Linked DNA regions of Homo sapiens: all the other regions are linked to region 5. Evidence: promoter capture Hi-C in human tissues and cell types (Jung and others, 2019). All regions are on one chromosome and are shown on one strand. Each heading gives the region's core, a stretch centred on a gene start or on the middle of the fragment in contact. The rest is flanking DNA. Distances are from core to core; before and after follow the strand shown.

The links. The method cuts DNA at HindIII sites, captures the fragments that hold promoters and counts their contacts. A contact is called where the count stands out against the background at its distance.
Region 1: a fragment that was not itself captured here is called in contact with the fragment with the promoter of ONECUT2 in region 5 in 1 of the 25 tissues and cell types used here (mesendoderm cells).
Region 2: a fragment that was not itself captured here is called in contact with the fragment with the promoter of ONECUT2 in region 5 in 1 of the 25 tissues and cell types used here (H1 embryonic stem cells).
Region 3: a contact is called between a fragment that was not itself captured here and the fragment with the promoter of ONECUT2 in region 5, in 1 of the 25 tissues and cell types used here (mesendoderm cells).
Region 4: a contact is called between a fragment that was not itself captured here and the fragment with the promoter of ONECUT2 in region 5, in 2 of the 25 tissues and cell types used here (heart right ventricle and mesendoderm cells).

What each region holds. Positions count from the first base shown.
Region 1 is chr18:57,043,135-57,046,616 of GRCh38, reverse strand. It overlaps WDR7-OT1 (WDR7 overlapping transcript 1), which reads right to left. Exons shown (of 3, transcript XR_001753461.2): 2 at 2,420-2,657; 3 at 1-821. Among named protein-coding and RNA genes, the nearest start is that of WDR7-OT1, 4.9 kb to the right of the region's middle. The HindIII fragment of the contact is 5,427 bases long and covers 1-3,482 here.
Region 2 is chr18:57,110,824-57,114,641 of GRCh38, reverse strand. No RefSeq gene overlaps it. Among named protein-coding and RNA genes, the nearest start is that of BOD1L2, 34 kb to the left of the region's middle. The HindIII fragment of the contact is 5,562 bases long and covers 1-3,818 here.
Region 3 is chr18:57,061,615-57,065,272 of GRCh38, reverse strand. All of the region lies in intron 2 of LINC-ROR (long intergenic non-protein coding RNA, regulator of reprogramming), which reads left to right. Among named protein-coding and RNA genes, the nearest start is that of LINC-ROR, 8.7 kb to the left of the region's middle. RefSeq lists enhancers at 60-595, 2,694-3,583. The HindIII fragment of the contact is 5,495 bases long and covers 1-3,658 here.
Region 4 is chr18:56,984,416-56,988,371 of GRCh38, reverse strand. The region is part of intron 26 of WDR7 (WD repeat domain 7); the gene reads right to left. Among named protein-coding and RNA genes, the nearest start is that of WDR7-OT1, 54 kb to the left of the region's middle. RefSeq lists an enhancer at 851-1,700. The HindIII fragment of the contact is 3,040 bases long and covers 865-3,904 here.
Region 5 is chr18:57,433,325-57,436,829 of GRCh38, reverse strand. ONECUT2 (one cut homeobox 2) reads right to left here and starts at 1,456. Exons shown (of 2, transcript NM_004852.3): 1 at 1-1,456. The coding sequence starts at 1,113. RefSeq lists a silencer at 1,527-1,576 and enhancers at 1,570-2,149, 2,150-2,730. The HindIII fragment of the contact is 18,346 bases long and covers 1-3,505 here.

The sequences.
Region 1 (3,482 bases), core at 78-2,577, 390 kb after region 5:
TACCATCTGTGCAGACCATGGTGCCTTGGAGTTTCAGCCATTCAGAAGAACAAAGTAGGCCCAAAGGAGGAAAGAAGGAGGTACACAGGCAGTATTCCTTCTAGCGAGGCTAGTGTGTGTTGGCCTGAAGGCCCAACAGGCAAGATCTATCTCTCCAAAGGGGAAGGGACCATCCTAGAATTGCCAATATGGCACCTGTCTGCTCCCTTCCCACCTCCCCTCACCAGGTTGTGAAAACTTGACCTCACAATCCTTCCCCTGTTAAGAGAACTTGACCTCACAATCGTTCTCACATAGAGTTCCAGAAGGCCACCACCAAGTGGTTGGAACTTGCCATCCCTGCCCCAGACCTTAAAAGTAAGAAAAGCAATAATTAAAACGGCTTCACCATTTGCATAACAACCACCACTATGATTATTACTGGCAGGAATCATCAATGGCTGCCAAAATTACTGCAAAAATGTATGATGGGGAACAGTGTCTCTGCATAATCTCAAAGCATTTCCTCATAAGACACATATTAATTATAAAGGAAAAAAATCATAGTTTACATATTTTATAGTTGAGAAAACTGACAGATACTACCTTAATCATGTGATAAAAGTGGACATTGCCAGGAATGACCATCATGTTCCTCTTGATACACTGCACTGAGAAGGACACAATGTCACTGCTGTGGTCTCCTGGCAAAAAAAAAAGCACAATCTGAATCTAATCATGAAGAAACATCAGGCAATCCTGAATTGGGACTGTCTGCAAAATAACTAACCTGTACTCTTCAAAAGTGTCAAGGTCATGAAAGACAAAGGAAGACTGAGGACCTGTCAGAGATGAGAAGAGTCTCAATTGGTATCAGAATCAAAGAAACTGTGGGGTCTTGGATTGGATCCTGGACCAGAAAACGAACATTTGCTGACACATTTGGTAACATTTAAGGTCTGTAGCTTAGTTTAACAGTATTGGTCAATGTTAATTCACCAGTTTTGATTCTTGAACTATGATTATGTCACATGTTACCGTTTGGGATGCTGAGTAAGGGCACATGGGAACTCTTTCTTCAACTTGTTTGTAAGTCTGAAATTATTTCAAAGTAAAGAGTTTATTTAAAAACTTTCTCTATTATCTGAACACTTTCATATTACTGATTTGATTTTATCCTAATTACAACGTCTCAAGAGGGTGGCATTATCTATATTTACTGAGAAAATGGGAGATTAAGTAAGGAAAGTGATTTGTCCAGGTCACCAGCAGGGAAGTAGCATGCAGACCTGAGACTTGAATCTGAATTTCCTATTTCCAAATCCTAGTTGCCTTTCCAACTAGAATGAACTGGCTATGCTACATGTCTTCATAAAAGAAGAAGATGACTTTTTGAGAGACTTGGGTCTAACCAGGACATAGTCAACAGTCCCGCTCTGGGGGCATTCTGATTCCATCTGCCTTCCCTCCACCCATGACCCCACAGGTGCATGCACAGCATCATCCATATCAGAGATAGGCTGACCCCCTTGCCAGTCCTTGCATTCACCAGCAATTCCACCCTTCTCGAGGCTAAAACAGGGCCTCTTTTCACCACAAATAGGGTTTTCAATGCACTGGGGAGTAGAAAGGATGCTTGCAGGGTTCTTAGCCAGGAGTTCAGTTCAGCAGGAACTTTGAATCTATTTAATTCTGGTTACAAATGAGTTGACTTCAGCTCCCAATCTATAAAAGAATTGTTGAGAAACAGAGTGTTGAACTTGGAGGGAGCTCATTTGGGTTCTGAGCTCTGATTGTCAGGGATTTTCATCCCAGTTTTCCCAGGATTGGCTAGGTTTATGTCTGTTGTCCTGGGGTAATTATTAATTGTTCCATCTTTCGCCCTCAAAAGTGTCCCAGTTAGGACAAGAAACTATCTGGTCACCACATACAGTAATTATCTGGTTGAACCTCTGATTTTCAAGGAAAGAACAGAAGGCCCAGCGAGGTGGAGTAACCTGCCCAAGGCCACACAGTCCTTCAGTAACAGTGTCTCCATTGGCTGCAGTACTATTGCCAGGGATGACCGGTTTTAACTATTTTGGTTGGGACTTTGGTGTCAGTACCTTCTACCCCAGTTCTCAGTTTCATCCTTGGTTGCTTTCTTTGGGGCTGGGTCTCGCTCCCTGCAATGGAAGCAGTTGCCCTCCCTTCGTCATCTCCCTCTGGGGAAGCTGTAGTAGTCTCCTAATTGGTCTCCTCATGCCTTCTCTTACTCCTCTCCAATCTCGCACATCAGCCAATGGTTTCTTCGAAACACAAATCTCATAGTGTTCTCTTCCTGTTAATGCCCCATCCCACACCAACCCTGTGTGACCTGACTCCTCTTGCAAACCACTCCCTACCCCCGCATCTTCCTTTCCCCCTTTTGCTTATAACTACTGCTCTTTATCTGTCTCACCCACGGGAATGTAAGCTCCACAAGGGCAGGAACCAGGTCTCTTCTGATTCAAAGTTACATCCCTGGTGCCTCTTAAATGCTCAGCACCATGGATGATCAATGAAGATGAGATGTCCTTTGCAGGGACACGGATGACTTGTAGTCCTGACATTCTGATTCTATGGAGTTGATCAGAAAACCACTTAAGGCACCCGGGCCCCAGTGGTACAGCGTTTTCCCTGGATCCGATTCCTTTTTCCTATGATGCAAAGAAACATAGAACTAGAAGAATAACCTTACAGAATATGATCTATGTAAAATGAAACATCCCGAATCTCACATCTCCATACACTAGCCTCATCTGGAAGCTGCTGTGGTTCTTGTCATGCCCTTTTCATCTCAACCTACCATGTTTCTGGAACATGAACATGAACATGGACAGAAATCATCCTATCAATCCCCCTCAAACAAAAACCAAACACATGATAAAGCCATACTGGTCTTCTGACATCAGCCTTTCCAACCCCTCCGTCATACAGATGGGAAAACAGATGCCCCAGAGAGATTGGCTTTAGGATCTGGGCTTGGGCCAATCTTTTGATGGGGAGCAGCATACCTTAGTGCACCCCTGTGCAAGAGGCCTGGGCTTCCACCTTGGGACACAGTGAATGGTGGTGCCCAGAGCCAGTCCCAGCCTGGTGCCTAATGAAACTATCAACAGCACCTGTGAGGTTCCACATGGACTCCTGTGAAGTGTTTCTTAAACTGTAGGTGCACACGAATCATCCAGGAAGCTTGCCAAAATGCAGTTGTGACCCAGGAGGTCTGGGTGTGACCTAAGGTTTTACATTTCTAAATAGCTCCCAGGGGATATGGATGCGGCTGGTGCCCAGACCACACTTTGCTTTTTAGTTTTTGTTTTTGTTTTTGTTTTAATTATACCTTAAGTTCTGGGATACATGTACAGAACGTGCAGGTTTGTTACATAGGTATAGGAATACCTGTGCCATGGTGGTTTGCTGCACCCATCAGCCCGTCATCTACATTAAGTATTTCTCCTAATGCTATCCCTCCCCTTGCCCTC
Region 2 (3,818 bases), core at 1,294-3,793, 320 kb after region 5:
TGGTCATAACATTATACCTGGATCATATTTGGGTTAATTGTCTGAAGCTGGGTTAATGTTCTCCCTCTGGGACAGACTCTGCACCCTTCAAAGGCTGAACCCCTCTTTCTGACAGACTTGGCCTGTGTGAGTTATGAGGAGGAGTAGGGCTTTTGTCAGGCAGCAGGTTCCCAGCAGCAATGGGAACAAAGGGCCATAGCTGGAAGAGGAACACAGCACTTGCACCTCTCTAATAAAACCACCCAGACAACTAGCATGTTGGAAAAATAAAAGACAGAAAAAATGAAGAGAATGATGTCTTAGGACCCGGCTCCGCAGAGTGGAAGTCCCAAGAGCCAAGCTTGCCTGACTGCACCGGGTTTGATGTAGTGTCTCAGCCCGGGGCCTCTGCCAGGAGCCAGTTACAAACCTTCCAAATCTCTCTCTCTCTAGTCTCATTGCTATGCAGACCAATTTTTCATTCATCTGGAATCCACTGCAGCATTTTAATGTGGAAAGCCTGCTATTCCATTTCTCTCCCCTGAAGAAAAATGGCTTAATTTCTCCAGCTGATAGATTTTTTTTCCTGATCCTTCAGACAGTAGAAAAAGACCCTGGAAAATCAGCTGCTGGACTATCCACAGACATTTTATGATGGCCATAAACAGGGCTGTGGCTGGATGACACAGCAGGCAGCATCCTGATTAGTGGTCTCAACACTGTTATTACCACCTCCTGTGAAAATGATGGACAGGTAGGTAGGTAGGTAGGTAGAAAGATAGATAAATAGATTGACTGATTGATAGACAAATGAATAATGGACAAATGAGTGGGTGGATGGATGGCTGGTTGGATGGATAAAACATGATAGGAGTTGTGGTTTCCCTACTATATTTGGGAAGAATAATCCACCCCCTATATTTTTCCCTACAGACATGTGAGACTTTCTAATACCAAATCAATCCAGATTCTCCTACCTACCCACTCACCACCAAATTGAGACAGATTTCATCAGCAGGGGAAAAATCTATTTAGAGAGGAAATTAGAGGAAAAATTGGGGTTAATCATTTTAGCTGTGTTTTCTGTTGTTCAACTCACATGGCTCGGATGGATGCTATCAGCCCATCCCATCTGTGGCTCTTCCTCTGAGGCTGAAGATGACCTGGTGTGGCCCGGGGCCAAAGAGAGCCAAGGACGAAGGGACACCAGGCCCTCCTCTGGGTGAAATAATTGGAATTTCATTAGAGGAGTGTGGTAGATGAATGTGGCATAGACCCTGGTGCCAAACCTCTAGGGTTGAAACCCCAGATCTGCTATGTGCTAACTTTGTGACTTCAACAAGTTACCTAACCTCTCCATGCCTCAGTTTCCCCATTTATAAAATGGGGAGAGTAATAGCACATACCTTGTACAATTGTTGTGACGATTAATGAGCTCATGTGCCTTAAATGTTTAGAAGAGAGGCTGACGTACAGTAAGCACAATGGGGAGTAAGTCAAATCTCTCCTCTAGACCCTCCAAATAAGCAAGTTTGTTACACAGAAGAAGAGACTTTAATCCCAACAAGAAGATAATCAAATTTAACTAACTCAGCCATAGGTGCAAGGCCAAAGGTTGCACTTAAGTGCAACCTTCTTCCCTTACACTGTTTATTGATCTTCCTCAACAACAAAAGCAACATCCATTCAAATCAATAGCCCAAGCTAGGGTGGACTCTGAATGAACAGGAAGTGAATTGTCAGGCTGGGGCCCTAAGCCAAGCCCTCATCCTAAGGCTTGTACCTCCAGGACATAATTCACTACCTTCTGCGGTGGTGGCCTTTGAAAAACCACCCGGGCAGCTAGATGTCCCTCAGAAGCCAGGAAGAGTTGGAAGACTTCATCCTGCTCTACATAATTTAAATGGCTACATTCTTCTAGGCATTACTTAGAAGTTGCCCCAGCGCCTACATTAATGTTAGCTGCCCCTTTGTTAAATATGCTTATTGATGTGTGGCTTGTTTTTGTGTCTGGGACTTTGAGGAGCTGAAGGTTATAAAAGCAAAAGACTGGTGAGTGTTAACATTGAATTTGACCACACACACACAAAAAAAATATAATTATCTCAGTGCCCCCATCTGCACATGTCACAGTGAACATCTGCACATGTCACAGTGATTCTGTTCCAAAAGAAAGCACTAGTTACAGATAGACCTTGATTCCCTACCCACCATTGCTCCTTCTACACTGCCAGCCAGCCAGAGCTTTCCCTGCTGGCCTGCATTCATGAATACCAGTTTTCATGAAGCCATGGCATTTTGTCTTTGGAGAGCAGGATGTAAAACTAGAGTGTGTCAACATGATGGAGAACTATGCTGCCATAAAAAATGATAAGCATGTGGATTGTGTCAATATATGGAAATAAGTATGTGAAATAGTGCTAAATGGAAACAAGTACAACACCCAATAGTTTGCACACATGGATTACAACTCCATCAATAATTATGTCTGCACACTCATCAGCAAGGGCTGGAAGCAAATTTAGAGTGGTGTACGTAGAGGATTATTTACTGGATTCTTTTTTTCTCCCATAGAATCTTATATATTTCTTATTTTTTATGAGAAGAATGGAAGTTTGGACTGAGACCAACAAGAAAAGCATTTAGCTGCTGACACAATTGCTTAGACAGGAAGGGACACTTGCAGTGGTTGGAAATATGCATCAAGGGAAGCTGCAAGCCTAAAAACTCATACAGTTTTATGAGCTCTGCAGACCCTCCCACTCCCAGACTGGCGGCAGCCACAGGCTGAGTGGAGACTCTAGCACCATTCTCCCAGACGGGCAGAGCACCAACTTCAGGGATGCAGAATACAGAGGAGGCTTCAATGGATATATGGCTTGTTTGCTACTATGTTCACATTTTGCTTTAGAAGGGGGTAACCACATTGTCCTGGCTTGTCCAGGCACAGCCCTAGTTGTCCTAGTATAATTATTAATATCATCCCCTTTTAGTTCAAAAGTGTTCCTGTTAGGATAATAAAATATATGGTCACCCTAATTAAAGGGGCCATTCAGGCCCCAGCTTGGTGCCTAGGAAGGTAAGTGTATTAGCCTGTTCTCCCTGCTGCTAATAAGGACATACCTGAGACTGGGTACTTTATAAAGGAAAGAGGTTTAATTGACTCACAGTTCTGCAGAGCTGGGGAGGCCTCAGGAAACTTACAATCATGGCAGAAGGGGAAGCAAACACATCCTTCTTCACATGGTGGCAGGAAGGAGAAGTGCTGATCAAAAGGGGGGAAAGCCTCTTAACCACCAGATCTCGTGAGAACTTACTCACCATCATGAGAGCAGTAGCATGGGGATAACTGCCCTCATGATTCAATTATGTCCCACCCCACTGGGTCCTTCCCACAGCACATGAAAATTATGGGAACTACAACTCAAGATAAGATTTGAGTGGGGACACAGCCAAACTATATTAGTAAGTGATACCTGTCCCTAAAGGCACCAAAAGACAGGCACATAGATACTCTCACTCTGATCTTACAACAGCCAGGGGATCAGGATGGCATTTCTGTCCCCAATTCACAAAAACATTTAGCTGTGGGCATGTATTGGGATTGCTGCCAGCGCTGTGTTGGAACCAGCTACTACCAGCCCATGGCAGCCGACTGGCACATACCTTCCCAGCTTTACATTCAGTGATATCATCTTGGTAGCTTGAAACTGAAATTGATGGGAGTATCTACACCATGGAAATCAGGAAGTTCTACAAGTTTGGGCTTTTATTTTTTCCAAGGGGGGGTAGGAGTTTGTTGTAAGATATTGGGCAGCACATCACAGATTGCTGGAGTC
Region 3 (3,658 bases), core at 278-2,777, 370 kb after region 5:
TTCAGCTTAATCTCTCCCACTCTAGGTTCCCATGCCGCCCCAATCCCGCTCGAAGCAGCCCTGAGAAACATCGCCCATTCTCTCTCTCCACACCACCCCCCAAAAATTTTCGCTGCCCCAACACTTCAACACTATTTTGTTTCATTTTTCTTATTAATATAAGAAGGCAGGAATGTCAGGCCTCTGAGCCCAAGCCAAGCCATCGCATCCCCTGTGACTTGCACGCATATGCCCAGATGGCCTGAAGTAACTGAAGAATCACAAAAGAAGTGAAAATGCCCTGCCCCGCCTTAACTGATGACATTCCACCACAAAAGAAGTGTAAATGGCCGGTCCTTCCCTTAAGTGATGACATTACCTTGTGAAAGTCCTTTTCCTGGCTCATCCTGGCTCAAAAAGCACCCCCACTGAGCCCTTGCGACCCCCCACTCCTGCCCACCAGAGAACAAACCCCCTTTGACTGTAATTTTCCTTTACCTGCCCAAATCTTATAAAACAGCCCCACCCCTATCTCCCTTCGCTGACTGTCTTTTTGGACTCAGCCCGCCTGCACCCAGGTGAAATAAACAGCCATGTTGCTCACACAAAGCCTGTTTGGTGGTCTCTTCACACGGACGCGCATGAAAGGCTTTCCCTAATGTCAAAGATTTGGAGGAAAATCACCCAAGATGGCTCCAAGAACCACACACATCCAAGCAAGCCAACTGGAAGTGCAGACACCCCTGCAGACACGACCGTGTCCTCATCTGTGTTCCAGTCATTGGGACTACGAGAGCTCTCAGGAAGATGAACAAGAAACAACATCTAAATAAGTAATAGTGGTAGGGCAATTGGAGCCTCCTCATTCTCCAGCTTCCTCCCCCAGAGCTCATCGCCTGACCCCCAACTTTCCCCATTTTCCAAGTCAGTGCACTTGGTGGGGGCCCATCAGGCCAGTGCTCCCTGATCACATCCCGTCGTTGCTTGGCCAGGGAACTGTTGTCAATTTAGAGAAGGTGGAATTCATTTCTTTACATTCACATCCGATCTTATCAAAGGGGCTGCCATGAGGGGCAGAGCTGCTGGTTTTGTTCTTTCAGCTTCCTCTCTCCCCCTTCCCCCACTCTGTGGGTCTCTCTCCCTCTCCCCCTTAGCCTCCAAGCCTGAGTCAGAGATCTCCTCTCTGAAGTTAATGGCTGTAAGAAGATTTCATTTTATTATATCTTCAACAGTCCTGTTATTTTAAATTTGCCTTTGACAAACTCAGAGCCCTGGAATCACCATTTAGGAAACAAAGCTTAACCGGGAGCTTTTAAGAAGGGTATTTTCCCTTCCATTTTAGCAGGCTAGTAAAAATCAATAATGCTGTGTTCCCATCTGTAGACCACCTGACATCTCATGAATGGTCAATGGAGCCTGCTCTGACTGCAGAAGCCACTGAGAGATGCACTGGCCAGCCTGGCATGCAAGCTGGACACTCGCCTTGCCTTTCTGCCAATTTCAGGGCTTCACTCACCCCAGAAGGTGCTCCTGGGTGCCTTCCTTGGGAGGAAGGCTGGGTTTTTCCTGACAGAGTTTACAGTGGCCAAATTGAGGATGGGAAAATTGTGGGATGGGGAAGAGAGATGTTATCTGAGCTCAGAGATGATCAAACCCTTTGTCCCCCAAAGGATTCGTTAAATAGGACAAGCCTAGGATGGGGATTTGGAGGGTATTATTCCAGTGCAATTAGCCATGAGCTCCAGGAGGCAAGAAGCTGTCAATTGGTCCTCACTGATGCCAAAAGGTTTGGGACCCCAAACCCTGCCCGGATGCTTGTCAACCCCTTGATAGGCTGAAGCAGGGGCAACAGCAAAACTCAGCCCTGGTGCAGGACACAACGCCCTCTGCCTCCATGTGTGCCCCAAGGCATGCGCTTCTCCCACTGCCCAGAGGCATCTAAATGTGTCCTTGCAGGACAGCCAGTGTGGCCTTTCCCACAGCACATGTACAGAAACAAATGTGACTTCCAAACAATGGAGCCAAAATTTAGAAGCCACTGTGACTGCAGGACCCATGAGAAACAGGACTCCGTGGAAAACAGCCAAGACAAGGCAGGGAACCATGAAACAGCCAACCCCCCTCGCACCACCCTGAGGCCTTTTCAAAGACACAGACTGAAACATATTGTCACTCCTAAGCCAAGTTTAACTTCTAAAGAAATCTTTTCAAGATGTTCAAAGCGCCAAATGCAGTTTAGCTCTAAGCACTACCATCTGCCACTGCAGGCAAGCCCATCCCGTAATCCCTGGCTCGGGCAGAGGCCCGCGGAGCAGGGTTGCCTGCTGTGCCCACTGGAGAATGCACATTGGGTAGCGAGTGACAAAGGGCCCGCTGGGGCTCTGCCGGCTCCTGGGCAGCGGCACATGGGGTGCAGCAGGGTGTGGAAGCAGTTGAGGAGACAGCACATCTGTGCAGACATAGCACACCTGGGCTGAAGCCAGGTCTCAAAGTGACACCCAGAGCCCCTGTAGTCATTGTGAGTAGGGAGGGAAAACTCAAGGTCCACTAGCGAAGCTTGGAATTCCTTTGCCTCTAGAATCTCAGGTGCAAATAAATGGACACATATTTGATTTCCAAATGGAAACTCATCTTGCATTGGTTTTTGTTTCTCTCTTTTTTTTTCTGTTTATTTTTTTCTGTTCTGGAAAATGCCATCATGAGTTGGCATGAAATTAAACAGCTGCCCATTTTAATGGGAGAACTAATACTCTTTGTGAGCTATGCCTCATCCACCATCTCAACTCCAACTTTGTATATCCTGAGTGCAGGAAATTCAAGACAGGCCAGAAGGTCTGTTACACTGCGGCCAGGAGCACAGCACTGGCACATCACAGAGACTCAGAGCCAGAGAAGGAAGAGATGCAGGGGCCAGGGCCCCTCTCAGTGGAGGGTGAAGGGGCTCAGGGGTGAACTCAGGGTTAAGGGAGATCGGGGAGGCCCAAAGGATCAGAGTGGAGTGGAAGGAGGCGAAGTTAGCCAGGAAACAAGATGACCACGAGGACCTCAGATGTGCCCTCATCCTCTGAAATCCCCTGGAGCCCTCAGACCCAGAAACAGGAGATTGGCTTGGTTTGGGGTTGGGGTTTCGTTTTTATTTTCTCTGGTGCCTGACCGGAGTCTGGGTGATAGCCTTTAAAACACCTTGAAATCTGTAGCCACCACTTCAGCCAAACGCCCAGCCCGCCATGAAAGCATCTAGAAGCACAGCGAAATGGCGCACAAGGAGGCTCCAAATTCTTCCTCCCTTCACCTTTCCCTTTCCTGCAGGCCCCCTTGCACCCACTCCATCCCTGACCCTGCTCAGGGTTAGTAAACCTGGGGCTCTAGGTGGTGGCCCCAGCAGGCCCAGCTCCCTGGGGGCCATGTGTCCATCTGTGAACTGTGCAAAGGGCCTGTGGGGAACATACTGCTCCCATGGGCTGGGGAGAAATTTCTGGGAGTGTGTTTCTTGTCCCAACAATTGGTAGAGGAGATACCAGTGGCATTTAGAGGATGAAGACTGGAACCGCTGAAGATCCAGACCCCTGAGTTCCAATCACAGTTCTAGCACTGATTGGCTGTGTAAACTTCTCTGGCCTCAGTTTCCTCATCTGTAAAATGGCAATAATAACCATGCCTACCTCCCAAGATTGTTGTG
Region 4 (3,956 bases), core at 1,135-3,634, 450 kb after region 5:
TTTGCCTCAACTGGAGTGCTGCACACAGGCAGCAATGATATCAATGAGCAGCAATGTGGTATGTTTATCATGAGATAATCACACCCCTAGAGGTTTAGAAGCACTCAGCTGAACCTTATGCCTCACAACACACTTGGGGTGTCATTATCTCATGATAACCATACTCCCTGTCAAGCCTTATTGCTTAATTAGGGGTTACGAAGGTGATAAGACTAAAAGAAATCGGATGAACAGTACCTAAGATGAATGATACCTTAATCAACTTAAATCTGGTGGCTGAAGGAGGCGTGATGAACAGACACAATGAGTTACATGTTATTTTTAGAGAAATTTGTTAATAATAAATGAGGAGAAACCCAGTCTGCATTCCCAGATTATTTGAATTACATTTTCCAGGAGACATGATATTTATGATTAATAATTTAAATTGTGTTTTCACACAGTATGTAAAATGTTCAAGAAATTAATGATAACATGAAATTTAACTTTGACCTAAGATATCCAGCTTATGCATGACAGTGATTCATCATAATCCAAGCATAGGATTTAAGTATTAAGTCTGCAAGGGAACTGATCAATAACACCTACACCATGTACGATTTTAACAAAGTAACCTGAAACCAGAGACAAAAAATAACGTGATATACTCTTTACTATTTTTTTCTCTATTACACCTTAAAATAATCAAGCACAAAAGAAAAAAAATCATAGCACCAAAATGCTTTAAAAGGTTATGCCCAAATACGTAACTTTAGTTCTTTTGTTCTATTTTTATAAACAACTGCCATATTTGTGGACAAAATATAGCTTCAGATATGGTGCACTTGAAGCTGCTTTCCAATTCACTGTGAAACATCAATTATCTTTATCAAATAACAGTATCCTCATCTCAGTCCATTATCAAGATGGAGTCTTATTTTAGCTGGACTGCAGCCCTATCTGTATATCAGGGCTGGCCGCGGTGGCAGAGCGTGAGTGAAAGGCTGTGAGATAATCAATAATCATCATCAAATTGTGGTCGAAAGGTTGTGAGGATGGAAGTTTTTGATGAAACCTCACCTTTTTTTTTTTTTTTTTTTTTTTTTTGGTACAGATGATAAGGCTTAACCTTTGCAATACCTGATGATTATGTCTCAGTTAGAGGAATCCTTGTGTACACTTTCAAGTGGTTCTGAATGTCCAAAGACACACTGAAATACTTAGGCTTAAGTGGAACACAAACCTCATGCTATCAAAAACCATCAGGTGGAAGCGCTCAAAACAATTGTGAACATGGTTATTGTAAACTTGATCCGCAACTCAGACACAGGGAATTCAAACCCTGACTTACTATGGCTGTTAAATCCCTGTGAGTAAAGGTCAGCTCTGGAAGAACAATGTTTGCATAACAATAGGTAAAACACACCCTGTGGTTTTCCCAAAGGTTACTGAACTGTTGCCTAAGCCTATGGACCTTGATTTTAAAAAAGGCCTCTGCTTGAGACTTACAGGGTTTAATGGCATCTACTCTCATCCTGTGTCCTAAAATGTCATGAATTTGGCATGAAAAATGATGAGGAGATTCAATTTTTTAATTCAATAGAACAACACTAATTTGGAGGGATGAGAAGTGGAATGCCTTTTATTTTTATTTTTTTTTTATTTTCCCCCGTCATTGGGTTCTGTTTACATCAAGTGGACATAAACTGAAAGTAAATCAGCTGAGAAGCAGCTAGATTAAAATTAGGGACAACTTTGTTGTCTGGGGTTCTGTACAGATCTGTCATCCAGAGGCAGCCCACTAAGGCTATACTATATACCACCCCACCCTCTGAAGCCACACTTCTGAAAGCTTTAATTTAAAAATCCTTATTTTATAGTGGTTTGACATTTTTAAAAGCATACATTTAGAAAACTATGTATCCTTCAAACATAAAACCTATCAAAGTATGATAAAACATGAAAACTAAATCCATAAACCAGAACAAAGGAATTATCATTTCAAAATGTCAAAGTGTTGGTAGTTTGATAATACCACAGTTTAAAAGCAAGATCCTTTTCTTAAATTGCAAAATTCACTGATATAAATGGTCAAAATTTTAAACATCTTAAAGTGGTGAGCTACTAATCATTGAACATATCGCTATCAGTATTACAGTAGATGTTTTGGAAACAGACCCTAGTTCAGGGAAATCATGAAGTTGAATATGTATACACACACACACACACACACACACACACACACACACACACACACACACACAAAGAAGCTGAAATTAGCTCTATTATAATTTCCAAAGTCTGAATTTATTTAAAGTAGGTTTGTTAAAGAAAATTTTGTTCTAATGAAAACACTCTAAACAACTTCAGTAAAAAGCAACCAATTATATTAACCTAATTTGTGACCTATCTTTCCTATAAAAATGTCCAACACAAATTTAGAGTAATTGCCCCTTTTTGAGCTATATTGCCTTTCCTATAGTAACAGCAGTTAATATACATGAAAATATTTAAACTCTCTTTAAGAAACATGTACATTTTATTCACTCTACCAACAGAAAAAGCCTGTTTCTTAGGATCTCTGAGCTCCTTTTGACATGCTATAATTTCCATCAATACTTAGTGTACAATACCTGTTAATGCTAATTGTGGATTAGGAAATATATCAGAAATAATTAAAAATTAATAAAATATATAAAACCTCCAATATAAAACAATATAAAACAAAAATACATGCTCAAGGAGACCCATTTTCCACTGATTAAAGCTTCAATTAAAAAAATATTTCAAGGTAACTAAGAGGAAAGATTTTACTTGATTTTGTGTACTTGATATAGAGAAGTTAAAATGTATCTTGGAAGACATTTTGAGAATGGCAAATTAGAAACATACTAATCAAATACAATCAGAAACTTCAACTTCCCCCACCTCCTCCCCATTCACTATAACAAATATATACCACAGTAACAAATCATAGCATAATCCTTGTGATATATTTTAAAATTTGGTTTTGAAAATACATGTTATAGCAACATGTCAAGCCTAATGTTAATGCAAAATATTCTTTTCCTTAGCCTATTATTTTAAAAGTATAATATTTATATTAATCATGCTAAATTTCATGTTGACAATATATGCAAAGCTAGCACTGGCTTTTTTAAGACAATAAAAATTTAGCAGTGTGTGGAATCTTGCTATAGAAGTAGCTATTAAAAGTACACAGGACAGAATCCTAAAATTGCTGCAACACTTTACCCCACATACAATAAATGTTCTCCAGAAACACTGTGGTGTTCTAAGGCTGAATCAGTTGGCTCCCAGAGCTGAGTAGCAATAAGATAGTATGTTTTATTATGAGTGTCATGGAGATGGTGTGAAAAATCAAGAGCCACAGGCAGTCGGCAGCAATGGGTCAATAATGCTCCCAGAGACATTGTGTAGATAATCAACAACAAGGCCCGAGGTTCTCTCGGCACTGCACACAGCTGAAGGGCAAATCAATACAGCCAGGGAAGGGCACTGCCCTGCTCCACTTCCCACAGTACGCTATGGCTGCTGTAGGAAAACCGCCCCCAAAATGAAAATAAAGGAAACTGGTTGTGCAACTAACAATCACAAATTCATCCTTCAAAGAGGCTTCCAAAAAATCCAAACACAATTCAATATAAAGTCTGCCCAAAAATGAACCCAGGGGAAGGTTTCATTTAAAAAGTGCTGCATAAATAGGGATTAAGACATAATGACTTAAATATAAAAAAGGGCAAACATGGTCTTATGAAGTATTCTAGTTTATAATATTAAAATCAAAGTTTAACCAAGTTTTTTTGTGAGTAAAACATTCCAGTTTGGGAGATTTTACTTTGTTAACTTTGGTGTCTAGTATTGCTAGTGCTCAAACAGATCATGCTCATGTTTATCATTAGAAGGGTAAATAAGAACTAAAACTATGCTACATTTTAGAAAGTGTGAATTATATT
Region 5 (3,505 bases), core at 207-2,706:
CAGGTCGGAGAGAGTCCCCTGAGACCGGCACAGCACCCTCTGCGCAAAGATCGCCTGGGGGATACTGTAGCGCTTCAGCTCCGCTGTGATGCGCTGGGCCACCTCTTTGGTGTTGATTTCTTCCAGCTGGCCCGACGTGGCCACCTGCGAGCCCGATGAGGACGAGGGTGGCCGCTCGCGACTGGGTGCCAGCACCGGCCCGTGAGACTGAGTGTGGCCCGGGTGGTGCAGGCCGTTCAGGTGCGACATCATGGCCGCAGGTGGGGTGCCCAGGCCGCGGGACAGGTGTTGCTCACCGCGGGTCAGCATGGCAGTGTGGTGCGCGTCGAAGTTGGGGCTGAGCATTTTGTCGTGGCCCGGCGGACCGTAGTTGGGCAGACTCTGCTGCGCGTTGTGGAGGCCGCCTAGCCCGTTGCCCAGCGGCGTGGCGGCCAGCGGGGACAGGCTCTGGCTCATGCCGGGCATCTCCTTGTAGGGACTGTAGAGGTTGTTCATGGCCGGGAGCCCGCGCTCGTCGCGCATGAGGGTGAAGCTGCCGCTGACGTTGCCGGACAGGCGCTGGTGGTGGTGGTGGTGGTGGTGGTGCGGATGGTGGTGCGGGTGAGGGTGGTGGAACTTGTCAGACACGGTGGAGATGGGTGGCAGCGGCTGGAGCGGTGTCAGCGTGGTGTAGGTGTTGCTCATGCCCATGCCAGGCGGAGACGAGTCGCAGGACATGCTCATGGCGTGGTGCAGCGGGATGGAGAGCTCGGGCCGGTAGTCGCCGCCGTCCAGGATCGAGGCCATGCTGGTGACCATGGCCGAGCGCGACGCCGCCGCTGCCGCCGCTGCCGCCGTGCCCAGCTCCTGGTGCGCGGTTGGAGGCGGCGGAGGGCCCCGCAGCGAGCCAGCGGCGCCGCGGCCCGCGTGGTGGGGGCTGGGGCTGGCCAGCAGCTCCTGCTCATGGCCCGGGCCCCCGCCGCCGCCCCCGCCGCCCCCGCCGCCGCCCCCGCCACTGCCGCCGCCGGCCGGCCCGTGCAAAGTGCCCAGACTTTCCATTGTCAGCTCCGGGTTCATGGCGCAGCCTTCTAGGTCTTTGGTGAGGCATCGATAGGCGGTGTAGGCAGCCTTCATTCAGTCCATCAGGGCCCGGGGGCGGCGGGGGCGGCGGGGGCGGCCGGCGGGCGGGCAAGGCGCGCGTGGCGGGGCTCGGCTGCGGGAGTGGGGGCGGGCGCGGGAGTGAGTGGAGAGGAGTGCGCGTGCGGGTGTGCGCCCCGGGCTGCGGGCGGGCTCGCCCGGGGTGGGGGCGGGGTGGGGGCGGACGGGGCGTGCGTGCGGGAGAGGGGAGGGGACGGGGAGGGAGGGAGGGATCACCGGGCCCCGCCGCTCGGGCCGGCTCGCAGCCTCGCCATGTCCGAGCCCGCTCCGGCGCCGACGTCTTCTGTTTGGGTGAGCGGGAGCTGTCCAGAAGGGCTCTGCCGCTCGCCGGGGCAGCCAACCTACCCTCCCGGACCTGGGGCGGGGCCACGCCCGACGGGCGCCAAGCGCAACCACTCCGAGGCCGCAGCTGCCCCGGGAGGCGGGCCTTCCACGGGAAGCTACCAGTGGCTGTGGAGGGGGCGGGGCCGCACTTTTCAGGTTTGGCTGACGGCTCGGTGCCTTTTTTACCTCCTTTGCTACTGGAATCAAACGTCAAGGAGAGGGAGGGAGGAGAAGGTGGGGGGGTCGCTGGGGAGAGGGAGGCTGGAGTGCGAGCGAGCGAGAGAGATTCGGTGAAAGATGCCGTGCTGTGTCCCCCCTGAGCAGCTGCGATCTGGGGGAAGGGGCATTGCTTCAATCGCCTTCGCCTCACCCCAAAGCTTTCCTGGAGGCGAGTAAGCCGGGAGCAAAAGACTCCGCTATGTGCCAGTATAGACAAACACTCGTCACTAACAAGCCACTTACCGAGAGTCCCTAGCTGGGAGCCAATAGTTTAGCCTTTTAAAATGCAGGCGCTAATGTATTCTAATGCATGGTAAATTCCCGAGGCCGGGACATGCATAATCTACGCGGTCAGAGCAACTGTAGTGCCCTCGTCGCCAGCGAGCTGCGGCCGGCCGGCGGCCCACGGGCGGCGCGGGCAGCAGTAATGCATGCAAAGTTAACACAATAACATCATTTAATTACCCGGTGAGCCCATAAATCTCAGTTATGAGGCTTCCGAAGAGCCCTGCTAGATTGCAAAACAAAACTAGAATTCCGGGAGCTGCCGTTTCAAGGTGACCAAGTGCTTTCTGCATCAGCGACTTGGAAAGAAGTGGGGAGAGTGTAGAACCGGTGAGGTGGAGGTGAGGAGGGTCGCTGGTGTCCCAAGTGAGCAAACTTCTCCTGGGGGCAGAGAGTAAGCAAACCAGCTGAGACGGCAACCACGGACCTTTCTCCTAACACGAGACACACACACGCGCACACACACACACACACACACACACACACACTCCCGCTTCTCTCAAATCCCGGGAGAGAAACGGCGGTGGGCAGACGACAAGGAATCCTGGCTGACACCTGCATATTCAAACCTTGTTTCTGAAAAGACCAGCGCCCCGGCCAGCCTGAGAACGCTCACAAGCCAAGGCTTTAAAAACCGCACCTACGTCTTCCTAGAATTTCCGTTGTTTGGCAACCCCAGGTCTGGAGGTGGGAGTGGAACTGGGGGACAGAGAGTTGGAGATTTCTGCAGTCCGAGTCGGGGTGGAGGGGTAGTTGAAGACAGAGAGGCCAACACCCGGCATAAAGCCTTAAACGTAACAAGATTCTTCCAAAGCAGGTTGCGCTCTGTTTGCCTCCGAAGATTCAAGCTAGCTGAGGTTGCGCAGATGTTGCCTTTGTTTAAAGAGACAGTAATTAAGGACAGGGTGGACATAAGTTTGAGAAGCGTGACCTATTTTCTTTTGATCAGCTGTCAAAAGAAGAGCAGGGGGTCTCCTTAAGACAGCCCCCTTCAACCACTTCCAGCTGTTAGAGAAAACTTGATAAGAAAACAAGGGCAGAGCTCGGAATACTGTATGTCCCTTCTTGGTGCCAGAGAAAGGTTTGATTCATTTGGAAAACAGTTCTTAGTCTCAGTGACCTTTTCTGCCGCCCTCCTCTCTCTTCTTGCTTCAGAGCAACACCCCCACCCCCACCCTGTCACATGAATGTACAGTGACGTTATTCATAGATCAACTTCATTGAGCTCTGGCCAATACGCTGCCAATTATTCTTTCAAATAGCGTCTTCTCTGTGTTATCAAAGCCTGAGTAAGAAAGCGGCAGATCCTCTGGTTTGCCAGACATACTTTTCTGGTTGCTCACATCTCTAGTGTCACAACAGGAGCCAGGTAAAATAACTCAGATTTTGGTTTCTCTGTTTTTCCTCTCCTCCTCACCCCCTCCTACTGTCTCTCTTCGCACTCCCTACCTTATATATGGCATCTGGACACTTGGGATGATTTGAGTCAGTTAATGTTTGAAATATAATACTGAGTTGAGCAAAAGTTCACGAGAGTGCA